Linked DNA regions of Homo sapiens: all the other regions are linked to region 1. Evidence: promoter capture Hi-C in 16 types of primary human blood cells and fetal thymus (Javierre and others, 2016). All regions are on one chromosome and are shown on one strand. The core of a region is centred on a gene start or on the middle of the fragment in contact, and the rest is flanking DNA. Distances in the headings are between cores, read along the strand shown. Region 1 holds the start of RSPO3 (R-spondin 3). Region 2 has its middle 300 kb from the start of MIR588. Region 3 has its middle 300 kb from the start of RSPO3.

Region 1 (4,285 bases), core at 823-3,322:
AAAAATCATAATCCTGTTGAGGTGTCATCTTCCTCATAATATCAAACCTAAAGGAGACTATGCCTACTTTCGAAATTCCAACACGAGCATGCAAAATAATAAATGATATTTAATTAAAGAATTAACATCAAAAGGCCATCTCTCAGATTCTAATTTTTAGCATCTTGAAAATAATGCATATTTCAAGTTCCCTTCCTTTTGCATCCAGGCCACTTTATCGCCTCTATCCTACTTTTGGGATGTATAACAAATATACCACTAAAGGACTCCAGAGACATACAATTCACAGCATTGCAAACTTACAAAATGCTCTAATTCATGTAAATTTACCTAATTTACATAAATTGAAGGCAATCCAGTAATAGGGATTACAAATGGAGGAAGGAGATAGAAGTGCAAGTGTCACTTGCTACTCTGCAAGGCTTTAGCAATTGACTTACACTGAATTATTTGAGCACAAAAATTAGCAAAGCACCTATGAATCAGGGACTCTTTCAAAGTGACCTCCCAGAAGTTTGCTGCTGTGTTAACCTGTAGTGCTAGTGTAGTCCTTCAGATATTCTGTTAAATATAATACATAGGGCAGGCTTATGTTAAAATCACTTGAGGCTTGTGACTTTCGACTAAATACTTCTTCAGTAATTACTGAAAAGTTCATCGGCTGGTGCTACCGGAGAAAAGACGTGGAAAGCTCACCATTTACTAACGACAGCCAGGGTGTGCCCCACTCAGGGGTGCCGGCCCTCTGTTCTCCCATCCCTGGGTGGGCCAGAGCATCTTACTCTCTGCTGCCTTGGGCCTCCACTTGGGCTGGGAAGATAAGAAAGTAGTGGACCTTCCCCTTCCTTCCCCAAGACTGGGAAAATCTTTCCAAATCTTATTCCCAGTCTTCCAGATGCGAGATTAGAATGTACAACAGATCCTCTCAAGAACACTGGGAGACCGAGGGTGGGAGAGAAAACTCCAAGGGGGGCGAGCTGACTATAGAGGGAATTGCCTGAGCGGGAAAGGAATCTTCCAAAGCCACAGAAAAGCCTTGGTTTGGAAGAAAGCCGTAGCACAGCTGCATTTCCAACGGGAAGGTCCTGAGCGCACACACTTCTGGGTCCTCCCCGCTCGGAGCAGGTAAACCTCAGAGTAGCTGACCGGCAGCACCCACAGAGTTTCCTCCCCACCACCCGCCTGGCGACCAACTGCAGCCGAAAAGAAAGAAAGAAAGGAAAGAAAGAAAGAAAGAAGAAGGAAGGAAGGAAGGAAGGAAGGAAGGAAGGAAGGAAGGAAAGAAAGAAAGAAAGACAAAGAAAGAGGAAGGAAGAAAGAAAGAAAAGAAAGAAAGAGAAAGAAAGAAAGAAAGAAAGAAAGAAAGAAAGAAAGAAAGAAAGAAAGAAAGAAAGAAAGAAAGAAAGAAAGAGAGAGAAAAAGAAAAAGGGAGAAAGGCAACAGAGGAGAAGGTCAGGAAAGCCGGGAACAAGTCAGCAGCCAGAAACTCTCCAGCGATCTGCCAAGGGGGAGAGGGTAGTTGCGCGCCGGCGCTGGGGATGGGGTGGGGGCGCTGGGGCACAAGGGCGCAGGGGCGCACGGCCACCGACAGCCGGGTGCGCCTAGCTTGAGGCCGCGGAGAGGAGCCGAACTGGGATGGGTGGGGGGTCTTCGGCCTCAACACTGCCTGCCAGCCCCAGTGCGCCCAAGTCTCCCCGCCAGAGCTGCCCTTCTGGAGGGGCTCTTCGCACGCACTGCTTTCCCCATTCTTCTGGCTGGAATTCTCCGGCCGTCACTGCAGTGTCCAGAGATGCTGCGCTGTAGACCCGGGACCCCTTAGGCGCCTCTTCCCGTCCCTCTGCCAAAGCGCAACGCCTGTACTTTTCCAGCTCCCTCTTTCCCTCTTGAAATTGAAAGTTATTGAGGTCGCTCAGGGTTGTTGCTCCAGCAGTTTCCTTCCCCGCCCCCGAGCTCCCCCCCGCCCCCCACAGCCATCCCCCCTCCTCTCCCCCTCCCTGCCCTCCTCTCCCTCCCCCCTCCCTGCCCTCCTCCTCCTCCTCCCCTATGTGGTGCTCCCGGGAGCCCAGCCCAACACTGGAGCGTCTCCTGCTCGCGCACGCCAGAAGCAGCTCGGGGTCTCTCCGCCGCCCCTTGGCCATGGCCGCTGTGCCGACGGCGCCCGCTCCCCTGCGCTCCAGGGGCCCCCGCCGCTGCAGCCGCAGCCGCCGCAGCTTCTGAGCCCAAGGGGCCGCCGCTGCAGCCGCCGCCGCCGCCGCTCGCCCGCCCGGATCCCGCCTGCGGCAGTTGCCGCACAACATGCTACCTGCGGCCGCCCCGGCGGCTCCTGGAACCCCGGTTCGCGGCGATGCCAGCCACCCCAGCGAAGCCGCCGCAGTTCAGTGCTTGGATAATTTGAAAGTACAATAGTTGGTTTCCCTGTCCACCCGCCCCACTTCGCTTGCCATCACAGCACGCCTATCGGATGTGAGAGGAGAAGTCCCGCTGCTCGGGCACTGTCTATATACGCCTAACACCTACATATATTTTAAAAACATTAAATATAATTAACAATCAAAAGAAAGAGGAGAAAGGAAGGGAAGCATTACTGGGTTACTATGCACTTGCGACTGATTTCTTGGCTTTTTATCATTTTGAACTTTATGGAATACATCGGCAGCCAAAACGCCTCCCGGGGAAGGCGCCAGCGAAGAAGTAAGTGCAGGGTTTTTTACGCGTTTGCTCCCTCCCGCCGCGTTCACCTGTCGGGTCGCTTTGCCTGTCCGGAGCCGGCTCCCAACTGCAGCGGTCCTCCCGCCCTGCGCCTCGCAGAGGAGATGCAGGTTCGGGCTTTGGGGGTATGGACGGCGTCTTTCACCCTTGCCTCTCGGCGCCCCTGCCTTCCGCAGCATCCTAGCCGGTGCGAGGGGCGGGCGGACGCGGCGCTAAGGTGGCTCCCGCCCCATGGTAACTTCAGGTTCGCGGGAAAGTTCGGTCCTGGGTTAGACTCGCACCCGGGATTTGTGCTTTCCTTTTGAGGATCGGACAGGGGCACCCAGCCGAAGGCACTTGGGACTCCCAGACGCAGGATGCCTCTGACCGCTGAGTAAATGACAAGGGAGGCGCGGCCGCGGTACCCGCTCACCTAGCGCAACCGCCTCGCGCGGGGAGACCTCGGCTGGGCCCTTAGGCTGGACTCCGGTAGCCGAACGCCCGCTACCCGGCCAGGAAGCCAGGGAGCGAGCGCCTGCGCGGCCGCATCCCCGACACGCACCAGCGGAGCCAAAGGGCGCGCGAGGCGATGGGGTTCGCGTGTCTGCGCGTTTGCAGAGCTGCCGGACGTCCCCCGCCCGAGGGTTGAAGACAGCAAAACCCCAGCTGTGGGGAGCCGGAGGTGCGGAGTTTCCAGGTTCTCTCTTGTCACATGTGAGCGTCTGTACCATCTCTGGCCCTTTCAAGTGTGTCCCCTGGGACACACACGTACAGAGAGTGGGGTCTCCCTAAAGATTCGCCTCCTCGCTGCCCTTAATGCTGTTATTTGGAGGGTTGGATTGTGATGGCTTCTTAAGACGGTGTCCTAGCTGGAATTAAGCGGACACCACCACGGCAGCCTCAACCTGGGTTGGTCTGTCTGAAAGGTAGAATCTTCCCAAGATGAAGGGACAGATGCGAAGGTGTCACCTCTCCTCGCTCCAGGGTAGCCTGGCGCCCTCGCTGCTCTAGTGTCTGTGTTCCCATGGGGAGTCCTTTCGCAGATCTCAGAGCAGGGGCGACCCTGGCTCTATGGTTGGGGGCGCTGGTGGAGAGAGGGAGGAGGAAACTTCTCCTGGAGCTCGCGAGGGGCAGGAAGCGATGCTGCTGCTCTGGGCTCTCGCACCTCCGCGGCGTGCAGCCCAGGCCCAGCGGCCCCACCTGGTTTCCCAAGGGGATCCCTCTCCCAGCGTCCCGCCCGGGAAGCCTTTCGGGGCAGACGTCGGGGCAGCGCGGAGGACACAACACCGGCTTGTGTGAGATGGAAATTTAGTAATCGCTTCTCGGCCGCTGTTTGTCCCTGCCCTGCCCCTGGGCATGAGGGTCCCCTGAAAGCTCCCTTTGTATTGCTGGCCTCGGCCAGACAAGGTTTGATTCACCTGAAAATTGCCTTTTAAAAAGGTGGCAGTGCCAGAGCGACAGGGGCCCTGGCCGGGCCTCACCGCCTTTAGGATCACCTAGCAGGGGGCAGGAGAGCCCAAACTAAATATGTCAGGGCATCCGATTTATTATTCTTGGCCTCCGAATGGTGTGTACTCTGGTAACTCCCCACCCACTC
Region 2 (4,285 bases), core at 1,245-3,744, 330 kb before region 1:
ATTTGCTTGACAACAGCCATTAGCCCTAAGCCCAGGCCATGGATGATGTGCCAGTTATCACACAATTTGATCATTTATCAATGATTACCTCTCCCTCAGGTCAAATGACACCTATAAGGAATGATACCAGGTTTGTCTCATCCCCGGAAAGTCCACACAAAATGCAACATTTTGACAAAGACTCCTGCTCAAAGTAGCATATGCTGAGTTGTGGAGTGGGGTGCAAACAGTGTCCCATCTGATAGCAAAACTGGTGCATTTTTCCTCTATACCCTGAGTCTTTTCAGGACCCAAAGGAATACGGAGGGAGAGCAATGTGGGGCCTGTCTAGAGAGTAATGTACAATCTGTATCCTGGCTCACATCTCCTGCCTTCTATGTGAATACAAAACAGAGTGGGGCACTAGAAATGTAGGCAATTATAGATAAGCTTATGAAAAAATCAAATGTCTTTTGTCCCTTCTTCTTATAGATAAGCTTACACATTTAAAAAATGTATTTTGCCCCTTCTTCCTTCCTACTCTTCATATGAAGAAACAGAAACTGGAAATATAGAGTTTTATCAAAAAAGTAATTTCCAGGTCCTTCTGGTAAATAGATAACTTATTTTGTGGGTACAGGAATTTCTTCAGATAACTGAATCATTCATTTTAGGACCAAATCCTCTATATCAGGTGAGACCCATGACCCTAAACAGTGGCCTATCTCACTCATTATTGTATATTGCATTCAACACATATTTAAAGACCAATAACTAAGCTAGGCTTTCAGGATATAGCAGTTTACAATATTATAAAAGTGATTAAGATAACTACATTGTCTTAGAAAGATTGGCATTGAAGTAAATTAAAAATAAAGATTGGTTTTCTTCTTGCTGTTGTTTCTGCTGTTTTTAAAGGGAGATTGACTCCAATTACACAAGGCTTTAAATGTTAGACTGAAGCTTCATTGCATGGGCAGTGTGATGTAGGGTCCAATGAATGCAATGTTAATTTTGAGGTTAATTTAGTTGCTTTAAAATATTTTGTGCAACATGTTAGAGTTTATAGCATTAGGATATTTTGAAGTTACCTTAGAGAAAGTCTACCTTTCCCAATTTAGAGATGAAAAAACCCAAATCCACAAAGATTAAGATGAAACTTCATTAAAATGGTGGATTGAATGCAAATATTTAGTTATCCTAACAATAGAAAACCCACTCAAAAGACTATGAAAAGATACACAAAGATGAAGAATAGAAAAAACAAGGGCAACAATATTTAGGAAGCTAGAAAGCAGATGGCTGAGTGTAACAGACCTGGCAGATTGTAGAAAACCATATCGTAAGTTAGCAGTAGGGAAAGCAGAGAAGCAACTGGATTTACATCTCATCTCAGAACTTCCCAAAGCTGAGGGACTGGTGGTATCAGTTGCCCCTAGAGTGGAGCTTTTAGTGGGCATACATAACAGAACATAGAGCCACTGTCATGTCCACAGGTGATTCATATGTTGAGAAAATTAAATAAATGAATGTTTTAAAGGGAGAACTGGGATACAGGCCTAGGAATATGACTCACCATGCTGTGTTTTATTCATTATGTGTTTAGATATAGTGTGTGTGCATATATGAATGTAGGTGAAAGAGAGAGGCTCTTAACGTATTATGTGCTAATAAAAAAGAATCATGACATATCTCAAAGCCATCATGGAGCTGTGAGTCATTAGAATTAAATTTTTAAAAATTCCTGTTCAAATGCCTACACTTAAAAAACAAATTTTTTGAGTGAATATATTGATGATTTTTTCTCTTTTATTGTGAGTTGATTTTAAGGTTTTTTATTTATTTATTTTTTGGAGTGTTTGTTTGTTTGCTAAATCATGGAGCTACTGGAAGAAATCTAATTTATATACTAACTCAGAGAACTCTACAAACTGGACAACCAACCACAGGTTGTGGTTCCATGTAAGTTTTAAGGTTCCCTGGGAGAAAAAAGCCAAGTCTACTTTAGGACTCATAGGTCTCCAGGGTTGTAGTTCTCATGTAAAGAGGGAAGAGGAAGGCTACTTCAAAACTGAAGAGTTTATTCTAATTTCTTCAGAGAAGAGACTGAACACGAAAAGGGGAAAAAAAGTTATTTACAAGGTATCAACAAAGAAGTGAAGTATTTAAAGACCAGATAAATGAAAGGTTATTAAAAGAAATGTTACTGTTATAGAAAAATAATTCTTCCACTGTACCATGACCATAACCAAAGTCTGGAATTTCGAAACAGAACACATAGAAAGCAAAAAAGCAGGGAGGGAGGTATACAGAGAGAGTGAGCAAGTAGAGACCAGAGACCATGAAGGAAGATGAAGAACAGCCCCACTCCCTGAGAACACCAGCTAACTGAAGAAGCTGTGGTATCAAGAGCAGCTTAGGAGACATGGGGAAGGAAAAGAAATTTATAGTTGTGTGGGAGGGTTGAGGATGATGGGAAAAAGGAGGGCACTAGTAATTTTAAAAGGTATGCATGGAGGCCGGGCGTGGTGGCTCACACTTGTAATCCCAACACTTTGGGAGGCCGAGGATGGTGGATCACCTGAGGTCAAGAGTTTGAGACCAGCCTAGTCAACATGGTGAAACCCTGTCTCTACTAAAAATACAAAAACTAATCAGGCATCATGGCTGGCACTTGTAATCCCAGCTACTCGGGAGGCTGAGACAGGAGAATCATTTGAATCTGGCAGGTGGAGTTTGCAGTGATCACGCCACTGCACTCCAGCCTGGGTGACGGAGTAAGACTCAATCTCAAAAAAAAAAAAAAAAAAGTATGCATGGGAACACAGAATCAAATTCTAAACCTGTCATCAATATACTTTTTAAGCCATTTTTTGTAGACCATACACTTTGTAAACTGCACACTGTATGAGCATTTGTAGTGTATGCTCTGGTTAGTCTCAGATTTATGACTTTTTCCCAGCTTAATTATTAATAGCACCCTCTTCATTTTCAAAAGTGTCTTGGTGAGGATAGTAAATTAGATTATTGCCATAGCATCAGGGAAGAAATTTAAAGTATCTTTGAAAGGAATGAGCAGGAAGATTGGGGTAGAAAAAATAGAATTTTTGCTGAAGACAATTTAAAAGAAATTTCATGGTTCTGTTTGATAAATACTAAGAAATTAAAATAAAGAAGCATGAATTCTAGAAAATTCGATGTTTTAAGAAAATATTAAAGTGATACCACTTTGGGGCAAGTTAAAGTTCAGTGATAGTGATATAGTTTATAATTCTTACAACCATTATTCTTTACCAGACTCTATCATAGCCTAGGAGGCTATGTTAAAACACTCCATGGAGTAATTGTCTAAATATCATTTCTCTTTTGTTTTTTTTGTTTTATTAAGATGGAATTTTTGTTCATGCTTATGACATAGAATGAAAACCAAAATTTTTATTTGCTCTTTTTTCTCAAACATCATCACTTGTTTTATGGAAGATTATGACTTTATACAGCCACTTATAAAGCAAATGTGTTTGTATCTCATACCACAGAACCAGTAGAAAAAAAGGGTTATCTTTTAAAGTCTTTGGTCAAGGTCAAAGATCTAATTATATAGTAATCAACACAGATAAATTTATAAACTAAAAGACAATTAATATATATGTCATCAATTACATTCTCCTGTGAATTTCAGGTGGAATTTGGCCTGTTGTTGAAATGTTCATATTATAGTGACTAACTGATCATAGTTTACCTGGAGCATTCCTTGATCATCTCAGTCCTTGATAAACTGCGATGATTATTTACTATCAGACTATTATAAAAAGATCAATAAAGTATCTCAGTGCTAAAAAAAATGTTTTCACAAAAATCTAAACTCTTGCTGATGTTTTAAAATATTACAGTTCATTTGTTCTTTGTTAATTTCTTATTTGCAGTTTGTCATAAGCAGCATCACAGCCAGAGGTGCCAAAAATCTTTACAAAAGGCCATCCTCATGTAGCTCCAAGCCAGGTCCAGTAACAAAGAGCCAGAAATTTCCAGGCCAACTCTGAAGATTTAAAAGGTTCAGATAGTTCGGATAAGCTTTGGACAAGCAGCCAAATTATGGAAGCATATCTGAATTTCCTCCAAATCTACAAACCTTTTGAGGTTTGCTTCTCCTTATTCCAAAGCCACTGCAATAGCTACAGCCTCTTCACAACTTTGCATGAGCAATAATGAGCATGAGATTACTGGAGGCGCCAAGTCACGCCATCCCCTCATTGTTTGGATAATAAAGTTCAGAAGTACCGAGGATAATCTCACTAGAGAGACAGAG
Region 3 (4,285 bases), core at 1,309-3,808, 300 kb before region 1:
AAACGACAAACATCCAGCATTCTATTCCTTTTATAATGACAGAGGAAATAGAAGTTATTTGCTAACTTTAATTCTTGAATACCTGCAGTCACATTTTTAAGTAATCGCTAACTTCGATACATTGGCACATATATATTTTGCTCTCAAAGATTCGAAATAATTTATGATACCCCTGTAATCCCAGCACTGTGGGAGGCCGAGGCAGGTGGACCATGAGGTCAGGAGTTCGAGACCAGCCTGCCCAACATAGTGAAATCCCGTCTCTACTAAAAATCTAAAAAAATAGCCAGGTGTAGTGGTGGGAGCCTGTAATTCCAGCTACTCAGGAGACTGAGGCAGAAGAATCGCTGGAACCTGGGAGGCAGAAGTTTCAGTGAGCTGAAATCGTGCCATTGCACTCCAGCCTGGGCAACAAGAGTGAAACTCCATCTCTAATAATAATAATAATAACAATAATAATAATAATAATTTATGATAGACAAATACCATAAAATAAATCTTTCCCATTGTAAAAGGTATAAAGTTGAGGACCCCTATTTTATCTTCACTAATTCATACTTACGGAACCACATTCTTCCAGAACATAAGTTACTGTCTAGGACTAAGAAGAGTTTCCTTGAAATCTACATGAGCTTTTCCTTAGCATGAGGGTACTATTAAATAACTGTACGTTTCTAAGCAGAAATGAACAGTAAATTATCTAAGGTCAAAACCAAAACATGATCAAACAGTAGCTACAACACTTTTAACTCCTAATCAAATAGCTCTGGCTTCTGGCTGAATTGTACTGACCAACAGGTAATGATCAGAGCCCTTCTACCCTTAAGCATCCACAAATTGCTTAGACTTTAAGAACTAGAGAAAATGTTCAAGCATCAAGCAAGACAAGTCTTATGTGCCATTTACTCTAATTCTCATGGTTTACAAATAGGAAAAAAAAAAAAAGTCGCCAGGTGAGCGGTGGCTCATGCCTGTAATCCCAACACTTTGAGTTTGAGGTGGGCAGATCACCTGACGTTGGGTGTTCGAGACCAGAGTGACCAACATGGAGAAACCCTGTCTACTAAAGATACAAAATTAGCTGAGTGTGGTGGTGCATACCTGTAATCCCAGCTACTCAGGGGGCTGAGGCAGGAGAATCGCTTGAACCCAGGAGGCAGAGGTTGCAGTGAGCTGAGATTGTGCCATTGCACTCCAGCCTGGGCAAGAAGAGCGAAACTTCATCTAAAAAAAAAAAAAAAAAAAAAAAAATTCTCAGAGGCTTCACATAAAATTCAAAGCTAGAATCCAGTTGACCTCAGCCCCCTACCTCCATCCAGGCCTCTTTCTCTTGGATCAAGCTGTTTTGGGGATAGGATCCCAGGAGACACACAATGTTCTCACAGATTCTTCTGCTCTGCCAATTCTTTAGTCCATTAACATAATTTTGTTAGTTACTGTATTTTCTTAAGTTATTTTTGGGAATTAAATAAATAAAATAATCTAAAACTATTCTGCCACCACATATAGAGAAGAAGATTAAACAAAATGCGAAATTCTGGATGAAAATTTATAGCTTCCAAAGGAAATTAATTTGCAAGGAGGTGTAATTTAAACTTAAAAGAGGGAAGGTATGAAGCCAAATCTATTTTCCTGAGGTCCACGTTGGGATAGAAATTATCTTAGTCTTTTACCATGAAAAGTGAATTTTTGAAACAAAATGACAATAACGGTAAGATTATACAATGTTTTTATATATGTGAGGTCATTGGATCTCCAGATAACCTAATAGGCAAGTATTACTATTAACTTCACTATAGAAAAATGGAAGCTTAAATTCATGAATTGACATGCTCCTCATAACAGAACTAGTTATTTTCAATGCTTGAATTCGAACCCAGATATTGTAACTCCAAATCAGAATTCCAACTTTCTTCTTCCTTATCAAGTATCCATAAAATATACTGCACAAATGCACATTTATTCACCTTTTATATAGTGAATGAATTTTTCTCTATTGTTTGCTGCTATAAAATGATTTTCTATGAATTATTTTCATTTAATATTAGACCAGCCTCATGAATTAGACAACACAATTATTATAACTTCCATTTTACTAATAAAGAAATAGAGGATCAGAAAGATAAATTGACTTAATGAAGGTCACACAGTAGCTATGTGACAAAACATGGCTTCACCTTCTGTCTCTCACTCTAAATTCAGCAGTTGGGAATGCAGAGAAAGACAAGTTGCCTACCAACGGAAGCTCATATGCCTCCAAGAACTTTTATCTGATTCTGAGTTTTTAATAATATGTTGAACTTATAGCCTTCCAATACCAGAGTTCATTTCTCGCTTAGCAATTCTGCCAAGGAATTCCTTTAAACCGGTGATGACTGTCATTTAAAATGCAACCTTAGAGATGCCCAAGATTCACCCAAGTTTGAAATAATGTCCAGACAATTACTCCAATAGTTAAATATTTGTTCCACAATGACTTAAACACAAATGTGAAATAGATAGACTAAACCAACAACATTTGCTTAATCAGCACTTTTAAACTCTTTCCCTATACATGTTGTTTTGAGGATTAAAATCTGCTTTCCCCCTTTGAGGATTTATGCTATATAATAGAGATGGCTGGAAGCCATTAAAACAAAACAATCTGTGTATCCTCAAGGCGGAATAAAAATGTAAGTTCATTTTAAGCATGACACTGTTATGAAGCTGGTGCCGTGCTTTTTTTGATTAATCTCCATGTGTATGTTCATTTTGTAAAATATGTTAGATGACAGTAGCTTTTCATTTAGCAAATTAATTTCACTCTAATTCAACAGGGATGAAAAAATAATAAAATCTTCCCTTTTTGTGAGACATTTAACCTTTTTTCCAAGAAAAGTATAATTTTATAAAATATGCAATACATATTCTAGTTTAAAAATTGAATTAGTTCTGCTTAAACAAGGTCTCTTGAATACTTGTAGATTTGTGGTAGCAATAATTTTATTGAAAACCATTCAGGTTTGAATTTTTAAAATATTTTCATGTATAGAAGAAATGATTTTAGAATTGCTTTAAAAATAACATGGAGAATCCAACAATGAAACGGAAAACTGTATAAATTTGCTTCAAGATGATGATGTTGATGTTGAGTTGGCAGCAGAGGGTGGGAGGTGAGATGAGGTGGCTGGGTGAAAAGAAAGCTGTTATTAAATTCTATGTCCCTGCTAGTTCCATTCCCCTAAGGAATTTTCAGAAATCTTGTTTCTAGTGCTGATACAAGTGCCAGACTACAGTTTCCACAGTATAAATTATCCTTGTTTTGTTAAAGCTTAAATTATTTTTATTAGCTGGTCACCTGGGATGTGAACAAGAGTCAAGTTAAAACTTTCAGATAAGCAAAGCAGCTGTTGCAATCAGCTCTTTCTTTGTCCTTTCTACTTCAGTCCATCTCCTGCCTTTCCCCCAATCTCTCTCTCCCTGCCTCCATCAGTCTCTCTCTCCCTGTCTCCATCAATCTCTCTCTCATATCTCCTTTGCTCCATCAAGAAATAAAAATAAAGTGAAAGAACACATGAATTTTAAGAGATACCACGCAAGCTCAAACAGGTCCACTTCCTGTCATGAAGAGATTCTGCATCTGAGAGATGCTAGGGCAAGTCTGTCTGAGGGTACAGCTGTCACACTTCTATTATATTAACCTCAAAAATTCAGCAGTGAAACCAAAAACTTTCTAGTGGTTCGACAAAAGAAAAATATAAAATTGTTCAAAAAGCATATTAAAGAAGTTGTATTCCATGTAGAAAAATCCAATTGTGAAAAATGAAAATTTACTGGAGATATTTTGTTTTTCTAAGTAACATCTGCTAATTGTAGCAATTTGAAAAATGCCTAAAAACAAAAGGAAGAAAAAATGAAATCGTATACCATACAAAGATAACTATAACTTTGGAATTTTTTCCAGTATGTTTGGAATGAATAGAGAGTGTATGTGTTCATCAAATATATATGTATGTATGTGTATATATGTACGTATATATCATAAATATTATATTATAACAATTTTTATATTACATAATTATTCTTATGGTTCATAATACCTGTAGTATAAATTTTCATTCCATGATTTGATTTATTTCAACATTTTCTATTTTTAATAATAAACAGTTTATATCCCTATATTTTTGTGCTTAATATTAAAATTAGATATATATTTTGTGCATAATATTTTGATACTTCAGATCATTTCCTTAGTTACGTTTCTAGAAGTAGAAAAGATTGATTGCAGAGTATATTTTTTAACATG

What was found. The method cuts DNA at HindIII sites, captures the fragments that hold promoters and counts their contacts. A CHiCAGO score of 5 or more calls a contact.
Region 2: a contact is called between a fragment that was not itself captured here and the fragment with the promoter of RSPO3 in region 1, in 2 of 17 cell types (M2 macrophages and endothelial precursors). The highest score is 5.9, in M2 macrophages.
Region 3: a contact is called between a fragment that was not itself captured here and the fragment with the promoter of RSPO3 in region 1, in 1 of 17 cell types (M2 macrophages). The highest score is 5.6, in M2 macrophages.

What each region holds. Positions count from the first base shown.
Region 1 is chr6:127,116,599-127,120,883 of GRCh38, forward strand. It overlaps RSPO3 (R-spondin 3), which reads left to right and starts at 2,073. Exons shown (of 5, transcript NM_032784.5): 1 at 2,073-2,691. The coding sequence starts at 2,595. LOC105377989 (a long non-coding RNA gene) reads right to left here. Exons shown (of 14, transcript XR_002956387.2): 4 at 2,303-4,285. The HindIII fragment of the contact is 5,242 bases long and covers 1-4,285 here.
Region 2 is chr6:126,784,903-126,789,187 of GRCh38, forward strand. No RefSeq gene overlaps it. Among named protein-coding and RNA genes, the nearest start is that of MIR588, 300 kb to the left of the region's middle. The HindIII fragment of the contact is 3,108 bases long and covers 941-4,048 here.
Region 3 is chr6:126,818,291-126,822,575 of GRCh38, forward strand. No RefSeq gene overlaps it. Among named protein-coding and RNA genes, the nearest start is that of RSPO3, 300 kb to the right of the region's middle. The HindIII fragment of the contact is 1,500 bases long and covers 1,809-3,308 here.